Regions from separate parts of the Homo sapiens genome. Here all the other regions are linked to region 3. Evidence: promoter capture Hi-C in 16 types of primary human blood cells and fetal thymus (Javierre and others, 2016). All regions are on one chromosome and are shown on one strand. Each heading gives the region's core, a stretch centred on a gene start or on the middle of the fragment in contact. The rest is flanking DNA. Distances are from core to core; before and after follow the strand shown.

The links. Contacts are between HindIII fragments. The CHiCAGO score rates a contact against its expected background, and 5 or more counts as called.
Region 1: a contact is called between a fragment that was not itself captured here and the fragment with the promoter of DNAH7 in region 3, in 1 of 17 cell types (non-activated CD4 T cells). The highest score is 5.2, in non-activated CD4 T cells.
Region 2: a fragment that was not itself captured here is called in contact with the fragment with the promoter of DNAH7 in region 3 in 1 of 17 cell types (non-activated CD4 T cells); the score reaches 7.2 in non-activated CD4 T cells.

The regions. Positions count from the first base shown.
Region 1 is chr2:196,303,501-196,306,436 of GRCh38, forward strand. The region is part of intron 13 of HECW2 (HECT, C2 and WW domain containing E3 ubiquitin protein ligase 2); the gene reads right to left. Among named protein-coding and RNA genes, the nearest start is that of HECW2-AS1, 45 kb to the left of the region's middle. The HindIII fragment of the contact is 2,351 bases long and covers 512-2,862 here.
Region 2 is chr2:196,281,024-196,284,202 of GRCh38, forward strand. The region is part of intron 14 of HECW2 (HECT, C2 and WW domain containing E3 ubiquitin protein ligase 2); the gene reads right to left. Among named protein-coding and RNA genes, the nearest start is that of HECW2-AS1, 23 kb to the left of the region's middle. The HindIII fragment of the contact is 4,051 bases long and covers 1-3,179 here.
Region 3 is chr2:196,067,242-196,070,311 of GRCh38, forward strand. DNAH7 (dynein axonemal heavy chain 7) reads right to left here and starts at 1,596. Exons shown (of 65, transcript NM_018897.3): 1 at 1,456-1,596. The coding sequence starts at 1,470. RefSeq lists enhancers at 888-937, 1,418-1,507. The HindIII fragment of the contact is 14,129 bases long and covers 1-3,070 here.

The DNA.
Region 1 (2,936 bases), core at 437-2,936, 240 kb after region 3:
TCTCTAGTAGTATTCAGCTGTCAATCCATCTGATCCCGGGCTTTTTTTGGTTGGTAGACCATTTATTGCTGCCTCAATTTCAGAACTCATTATTGGTCTATTCATAGATTCAATTTCATCCTGGTTCAGTCTTGGGAGGGTGTATGTGTCCAGGAACTTATCTATTTCTTCTAGATTTTCTAGTTTATGTACATAGAGGTGTTTATAGTATTCTCTGACACGGTTGTTTGTATTTCTGTGGGGTCAGTGGTAATCTGTCCCTTATCATTTCTGATTGTGTTTATTTGAGTCTTATCTCTTTTCTACTTTATTAGTCTAGCTACAGTTGCTCCTTCTTGAAGCCCTTTTTTCTCCTATCCCATATTCCAATCTATTAGCAAGAATGTCATCTCTGTCTTCAAAATATATCCAATATTCATCCATTTGTCACCGTCTCTACTGCTAACTGCGTTAGCCCAAGCCACTTCCATGCCTTACCACAGTAGCTTTTCACTTAGTCTCCCTGATGCCAAGCTTGCCCTCTAAAACCCATTCTTTGCATAACAGCTAGAAGGAACTTAAAAAACTCTAAATTACTCCCATATAGAAAACCCTTTCAGAATAAAGCCCAAATACCTTGCCAGATCATGCAAGCCCAACCTTCTGTAGCCCTGCACGCTTCCCTGACCATATTATGTGCCACAGAAAACTCATTCCTACCCCTGAGTCTCTGCACTTCCTTGGCAAGGCAGGTTCTGTTCTCAGACATTTACCTTATCGGCTTCTGGGCATTTTATGACGGCTTGAATGTGGCTCCCTTGGAAAGGCCTTCCTGTCCACCTGATCTAAAATAGTGCCTCCTTGTGAGATTTTGAGATTAAAAAATAAAATAAAATAAAATAGTGCCTCCTCCACCTCATCCCCAAGTAACTCTATCCCAGTGTGTGGTTTCAGTTGCCTCACACCACACTACAGTACCTGCATTATCTTTTTTATTCACTAGTCTGTTAACTATATTCTACTCTGTCTTATTTACCACTCTATTCCCAGAGTCTAGAATGTACCAGGCAAATCACAGGCATTTAATAAATACTGATTAAATGAAGGCATGAACAAATGAACAAAAAACAAAGGGGAGCTTGTGCCTTCTGACTCCAAGTCTGAGTCTCTTCCTATTAAAGCATGATTTTTTTCTGTGTTACAGTGACAACTCTAAATGTTAGCCCATTCTGCCTTGCATGAAAGCCTGTCACCTCCTAGAATTGTCCCATATATGAGTTTAGGTTTGTGTAGCCTAGCTTCTGTATCCCTTCCCAGGCTCAAATCTGACTTTCACTAGTGTCCTATGTTCTCAATACACCAGCAACACCGAATTGCTTACAATACTAATAATCCAGTTTTAGAACTTCTGCAGTAATTATCAAGACAGACTTGCAGCTTCACGAATCGATTGTTTTGCAAATGATGCTTCTTCTACCTAGAGTACTCCTGCCCATCTTGTTTCTGGGACAAGCTCTTAATCAGCCTTTAAAACTAATCTCAAATCCAAACCTGTCTATGGCCCCTTCCATGTGCCTTCCCTTTGGAGTTAATCGTCCACTCCAGCAGTGTATCTTCTATAGCCATCCATTATTGCACTTGTAATTCTGGTTATGACATTATAATTGCTCTCAAGTCTGGGATGCCAGGGCCCACAGTTGCTGTCATCTCTGTATCCCTAGGTCTTAGCTCAGTGCCTAGCACATAATCATCAACAAACTTGCGAAGCTGAGTGCTCAGTAAATCTAACCCCTCTCTCATAATATATGAGGATAGCTAGCATGTTATTCGTTGCTTACTCTCCTCCCAAGTCTTCTCTGCTCCAAGCTAAACCTGTAAACCAGGAGACAATGATGAGGAAAGGCAGACAGATGTTTATACTTGTAAAGCAAAGCTAAAGAAGGCAGAAAAATATTAACATAAGTAAATATGTATTAATATATACTAATTACCTCACCACATACTCCTGGTGATAGGACTATGTTGACTTTTATTTTTCTCTATGATCTACTCTGTTTTTCTGAAAGTGTAGGATATGTCTTGTTAAATTCAATATGTTCTCCTTCAATTCCTTTAACAAGTCCCTCATTCGAATTTTCCTAGTATTATTAATTATGTATTGTTCATTATTTATGTATTATTATTATTAATACTCAAGGTCAACTTCTTCAGTTTCTATTCTGCCTACTTACCCACCAAATCTTGTCAACTCCCTGTCTGCGATTCCTCTCATGCTGAATCCTTTTTGTCTATTTTCTTATATCCTAGTACAGGTTCCTATCAACACATGCCATGATGAATGGATTATATCCTGCTAGACTTCTATGGCCAATGTTTCCCTCATTCTAAATCACTTCATGTGCAGTTAAAATGACCTTCCTTTAATTACTATCTTCAGTAAGCCACTCCCTCAGCCCTCGGAGACTCGTGGAATAATCCTTTAAATCCTCCTGTTATGGGTCCGATGTTTGTGTCCCCCAGAGTTCATATGTTGAAACCTAATCACCAATATAATAGTATTAGGAGATGGGGGCAGGAGGTGACCTAAGAGGTAATTAGGAATTAATACCCTTATAAAAGAAGCCTGAGAGAGCAAGCACCCTCCGCCCTTAGACCATATGAAGATGGAGGGAGAAGATGCTATCTACACACAAGGAAATGGACTGTCATCAGACACCATATCTGCCAGTGCCTCAATCTTGGCCTTCACAGCTCCAGAATCATGAGAAATAAATTTCTGTTGCTTATAGGCCACCCAGCTTACAGTGCTTTGTTATAGCAGCCCAATGAACTCAAACGGTTTCTTTGGACTAAACCGGTTAAAGTGTACAGTGCTCAACACAAAGCTTGGAACACACTAAGTGCTCTGGAAACATTCGCCATTATCATTCCTGCTATTACTACAGAAACAACGATCA
Region 2 (3,179 bases), core at 666-3,165, 210 kb after region 3:
ATGGGTGGTCATTAACGGTACAATGATGCACTTGTAATTATAAAGACAAATGGGTGTCTACATGTAGGTCAACTATGATTTGTATGTAGTGTCATAGCCTAATGTGATGTTAAGAGGCTTGTCTAAAATCCATTCTCAAAAGAACTATACTGCAAAAGCCTTGCAGTAGTGACTGTATCTTAGTCACTCTGTTATCCCCAATAGCTTTTAGGGCTGTGCCTGGGAGAAAGGGTGCTCAGATAAAAACAAATTGGCAAAAACTTGAATTTCCAACCAAAATACAAGGAGACAACTAACAATTAACTAACCAAGTGCTAAAAAGCATGTTCTTGGGCCAGGCGCGATGGCTCACACCTGTAATCCCAGCACTTTGGAAGGCTGAGGTAGGTGGATCGCTTGAGCTCAGAAGTTCAAGGCCAGCCTGGGCAACATGGCAAAACCCTGTCTCTACAAAATATTCAAAAATTATCCGGGCATGTGGTGGCAGACACCTGTAGTCCCAGCTACTTGGGAGGCTGAAGTGAGAGGATCATTTGAGCCTGGGAGGTGGTGATTGCAGTGAGCCAAGATTGCACCACTGCACTCCAGCCTGGGTAGGTGACAGAGTGAGACCCCGTCTCAAAAAAAAAAAAAAAAAAAAAAAAAAGCGTGTTCTTTTACCGAAATACTTAAGATTTGGGGGAAAAAAATGAGGGAAGCTAAAGACCCTAAAACCACAAACAGAAGATTTTAAAAATCCCATTGTAAATGTACCAGTTTAAAAATTGAGAAGTGGGAGGCAACATAATGATTAAATGCTTTGAATTTGGAAAAAGACAAGCCTGGTTCTGAGCTCTAGTTTGCTACTCACTAGCAATGTCACCTTGGGCAAATTAGTTAAAATTTTTAAACCTCAGTTTCTTTTCCTGTTAAATGGGGATCATAACTACATTAAAGGAAGGTTAACTGAGATAGTTCATATGAATTTTTGAGCATGCTGCCTGTGACACGTCAAATATGAGGTCCTATTATTTTCACAAATAATAGTTTTCTTTTCTGAAACAGTTTCCTAAGGATCACAGTGTTTCTTGCTAAAGCCCATACACAAGGCTCAAAAAAAGGAGGACCAGTGAAAACTGTGTTTGTTAACAGGCTCCTTGTAAGTATGTGTGGCCGAGACTAAGTTCTGACCAGTAAGATGTAAAACATAGTACTTCTGGGAAATCTGATAAGGGACAGATGATCCTTCGTTCTGTCCTTCACCCATCCTACCCTCTGAAACACAAATTTAATAGTGGAGCTCCAGTAGCCATACTGAACCATGGTGATTGTTGAGGAAAAGAGTCAAACTCTGTAAAATATTTGAAGAGATTTATTCTGAGCCAAGCATGAGTGGCCAATGGCTTGTGACACAGCCCTCAAGAGATCCTGAGAATGTCTACCCAAGGTGGACTTGGTTTTATACATTTTAGAGAGGGCTAAGACACCAAAAACACATGCAAGATATATGTTAGTTCAGTCTGGAAAGGCGAGACAACTGGAAGCAGGGGTGGGGGCGGTTCTAGGTCATAGGGAGATTCAAAGATTTTCTGTTTGGCAATTGGTTATTATCTAAAGATCTGGAATCAATAGAAAGGAATGTCTGGGTTATGATAACGATTGTGGAGACCAAGGTTTTATCATGCAGATGAAGCCTCCAGGTAGCAGGCTTCAGAGAGAATAGACTGTAAATATTTCTTATCAGACTCAAAGGCTCTGTTCTATCAGTCTTAAGGTCTCTGTGTTGGTGTTAATGCTGGTCAGCTGCAAGGCATATCCAACCCCCCACTTTCCATCATGGCCTGAACTAGCTTTTTTAGGTTAACTTTGGAATGTCCTTGGCTGAGAGGAGGGGTCCATTCAGACGGTTGAGGGGTTTAGAATTTTATTTTTGGTTTACAAAATGAAGGATGGCTGAGCAAAAAGTTGGAAGGAGCGGCTAGGTGTGGTGGCTCACACCTGTAATCCCAGCACTTTGGGAGGCCAAGGCAGGCGGATCATGAGGTCAGGAGAGGGAGACCGTCCTGGCTAACATGATGAAACCTCGTCTCTACTAAAAATATACAAAAAGTTAGCTGGGCGTGGTGGCAGGCACCTGTAGTCCCAGCTACTCGGGAGGCTGAGGTAGGAGAATGGCGTGAACCCGGGAGGCAGAGGTTGCAGTCAGCAGAGATCACACCACTGCACTCCAGCCTGGGTGACAGAGCAAGACTCCATCTCAAAAAAAAAAAAAAAAAAAAAAAGTTGGAAGGAGATGGGGGCTCTTGCAACATGATGAACTCCCTGGTCAACCCTAGACTGCCTACCTCTCAACTTCTTTATGTGAGAGAATACACTTTTTTTTTTTTTTTTGAGATGGAGTCTTGCTCTGTTGCCCAGGCTGGAGTGCAGTGGCACAATCTTGGCTCCCTGCAACCTCTGCCTCCCAGGTTCAAGTGACTCTCCTGCCTCCACCTCCCAAGTAGCTGGAATTACAGGCACGCACCACCACGCTACCACACCTAATTTTTTGTATTTTTAATAGAGACGGGGTTTCATCACGTTGGCCAGGCTGGTGTTGAACTCCTGACCTCAGGTGATCCACCTGCTTTGGCCTCTCAAAGTGTCGGAATTACAGGCGTAAGCCACCATGCCTGGTGAGAATACAGTCTTGTATGTTAAAACGTATATGGGTTTTCCACTACAATACAGTCAAATCAAATCCCACTGGAAACAGTGAAGTTTCCACACTGCAGAGGAAAGACAGTCTCTCTAAAAGTAAAATCAGAAACCACCATTATATGTAGGGATTTTCCCTATTTGGTGAATAATGATATATCTATCATTCACCTTTAATACAGCCAGAATACAATTCCCAATTTAAGTGAAATGTACAGTTGGAACTTACCAAGCTGGGATTTGAACCCATGTTTCTGTCTGACCCCAAAGCCCAATGAGCAATATCTTTTTCCCCACCTCTCTGCTTTTCATACATCATCTCCTTTTTTCCATTCTGCTTTCTGCCTACCATCTTTTCCTTTTTATGTTCTTCCCACTCCCCTCACACCTTATATCATACTTTATTTTAGGAAAACATTTCATTATGTATTGAATGAGGCTGACGGTAACAGCCACTCACAGTGCTTGGCCTCACCAGTTTCAACACTGCAAAGTTTCAAGTG
Region 3 (3,070 bases), core at 346-2,845:
TGTGGTAAAAGTGTATTTTAAACTCTAACAACGTAGGATATGGTTCAAGATCTGGCCGAAGACTAACTTGGGCAACAAGCAAAGAAGCTGCTCAATATATAATAATGGTGACAGTAACAAATGTTATTTTTTAAATCTGATTACATTAATATCATGTAGAAAAAAACTAGTAAGATCTATTAAACAATTGCTCAGTGTTTTTGGTTACTTGTATCTGAACTTTTTGTTTTTTGCTTGTCATTTACTCTTTTATTATTAATACCAATACTAATTATACTTTAGCATATGAATCAGTGTCCATTTCTTAGTTCTTAAATTATACTTATTTTTTTAAAAAGGTTCAAACCAAATTTTCTTGAGCATTTCAGGTATTAATTACTTATTTGATGAACTAACCAATCAGGATCTTCACATAGTTCTGTTAGTAATGTACAACTCAATGGATAGGAGACTAAATCCGTTTTAATACTGTTTCCACAATAAATTCTAACACTACCGAAAAAAGCATTATAAAGCAATAAAAAAGAAATAATTACCGTTTAATATTGTTTAAAAGCTAAATGAAATTTGCAGGCTTAAAAACAACTGTTTTTCTTCCAGGAGGTTTATAGAGTCCTTTTCCTTATTCATCACTACGTAGAAAGCTAGAGTTATTTTCTAGCTAGCCAGAATAATGACCACGTTTAATATCTTCCCATTCTGTGCTGATATTAAGACGACTGACCATTGTTCTGCCTTTCTGTTAGTTGCTCTTAAGTTCAATAAAGAAAGAATTCTTAGAAGAAAAAGGAGAGAAAGACAGAAAGGAAAAAAACGAGAAAAAAAGAGAAAGAAAAGCAGCTATTGCAAAGTGCATCTTTTATCACATACCATGGAATATCATCTTAAGAAGTGCCATATGTCACTTACCAAGGCCTTTCATGTATAGTATAATATTGTATAGTTATGGTATGGCATGGTATCTAATTTGAAATTGACAACAACCTCAAAAAGAAGAAAAGTTGTTCTGATGTTTCCCCCGCTCTGCATAAGAGGTGGGAGAACTAAGGCTTACAAAGACTAAGAGATTTGTCCAAAGTCACATGGCTAGGAGTTGGCTTCGATTCCCACCTTAGAACCCAAACCCGCTGCAACTCCTCGCAGAGCCGCCTCTCACCCAAGCACACCGCCATTAGCACTCTGGGGGTGCTCTGGGCTGTGGCTCCCCCTGCTGGCGCGCCGCTAGGCGGCTAGGTTTGGTTGTTATGACGACCAAGGGCAAACAGCTGGGAAGGGAACTTATAAGGGCATTCACGGAAAGCGCTCAGTAACCCAGGCCACAAGTGGGGTGAAGGAAGCTGTACACCGCGGAGTCACAGCTGGGGAGTTCGCTAGGCAGGAGGGGCTTCCACCACTTCCGAAACGCCTGGGAAGCGTCGCGGCGGCGGCGAGCCTGGCAAAGAGCAGCCCTCTCACCTGCTCACTGCTCATGGCTGCGAGGACGCGCTGGCCTCACCGGTGCTTCTGGGTTGCTCCTGCCCGCGGAACCCCTAGGACGATAGAGGCAGGGCCCCGGGACTTGCAGCGGTCTCAGCTCCCTCCGCACCAGAGCCGTCTAGCGTCCGGGCAGCGTTTGTTGCTAAGCAACGGGCCCGCGCAGGTTCCATTTCCGGTCATCTGTTCCTTCTGGGGCTGGACCCGGAAGCTGGCGCGCGGTCCCGCAAGAGGAGCTTTCTGGGGCGCTGCTGCCAGTGTTGTGAGGTCTAAGGTGTGCGTTGAATAACCAAAGACACTGGGTGGGTCTCCTCCAATATCCTCTGATTACTGAAGTAGATCCTCACACTTCCGCACCCTCCTTCTAAATAAGCCGGATGCCCAGGACTGCTGCCTTAACCCCTCAGAGGTCTCGGAGAAACACTGGAATGAAATGATTACAGATTTCATTGCTAATGTGGGCGAGTGGAGTAATGCGAGGCAGGATCCAGTAAACACCTTTCATTATTCATGTGCTTCCAACCCCTGTGCTGTTGACTCTTCCCACACTCCAGAAAACTATCCTTTGGAAGAATACCAGTAAAGGAACCTTCCAACAATTCTTGAAACCAACATTCACAGATGGTTTACTACATGAAAAGTGGTGTGCTAAGCACAAATGTGACCAAGACATCCATTCGCCACAGGCTGGGGGGTGTCCAAGCCAAGCACTTACCGTGTAGTGGAGACGGTGCTAAGAATGGCAGTCCTCAGTGAGAACATAAAGCACCAACTAATTTTCTCATGGAGGGCATGGAAGGGATGTGGAAGCTGAAATGTGAAGGAAGAAGAAATGCCAGGCAAAGAATGCCGGGCAAAAAGCAGGTCACATACAAAGGCCTGAGACAAGAGAGCATAGCTATTGGAAGCAGTGAAAATGGTTCTGAGAGGTCGATGAGTAGGTTTGGATAAAGGGGATTGGAGCCAGTCTAGAGAAGAAGCTGAGGTGATAAGCAGGTGATATATCTTAAAGGACCCTATAAAAGGGCAGGAGTTTGGATGTCAAAAGCAACTGACCTCCACTGAAAAGTTTTATGCTAAGAAATGGCAGAATTCCATCCTGAAATTAACAAGGAACCCCAAGGGGTCATAAATAGCCAAAACAATCTTGAAATTAAAGAACAAAGTTGGAGTACTCACACTTCTTGATTTCAGAACTTACTACAAGACTATAGTGACCTTAACAATTTATTTTCAACAAATGATGCTGGGGAAACTAAATGTCCATATGCGGAAAAAAATGCAGTTGGACCTTTACCTAAAAACATCATATACAAAATTATCTCAAAATTGATCAAAGATGTAACTGTAAGGTCTTAAACTATAAAACTCTTAGAAGAAAACTTAGAAGAATCGCTTCACGACATTGGATTTGGCAGTGATTTCTTGGACATGACACCAAAACGACAAGGAAAAAATAGACAATTCGGCTGCATCAGAATAAAAAACCTTTGTGCATCAAAGAATACTCTCATCAGTAAAAAGACAATCCACACAGGCCGGGTGTGTTGGCTTACGCTTGTAATCCCAGCACTTTGGGAGGCCGAGGCAGGCAGAT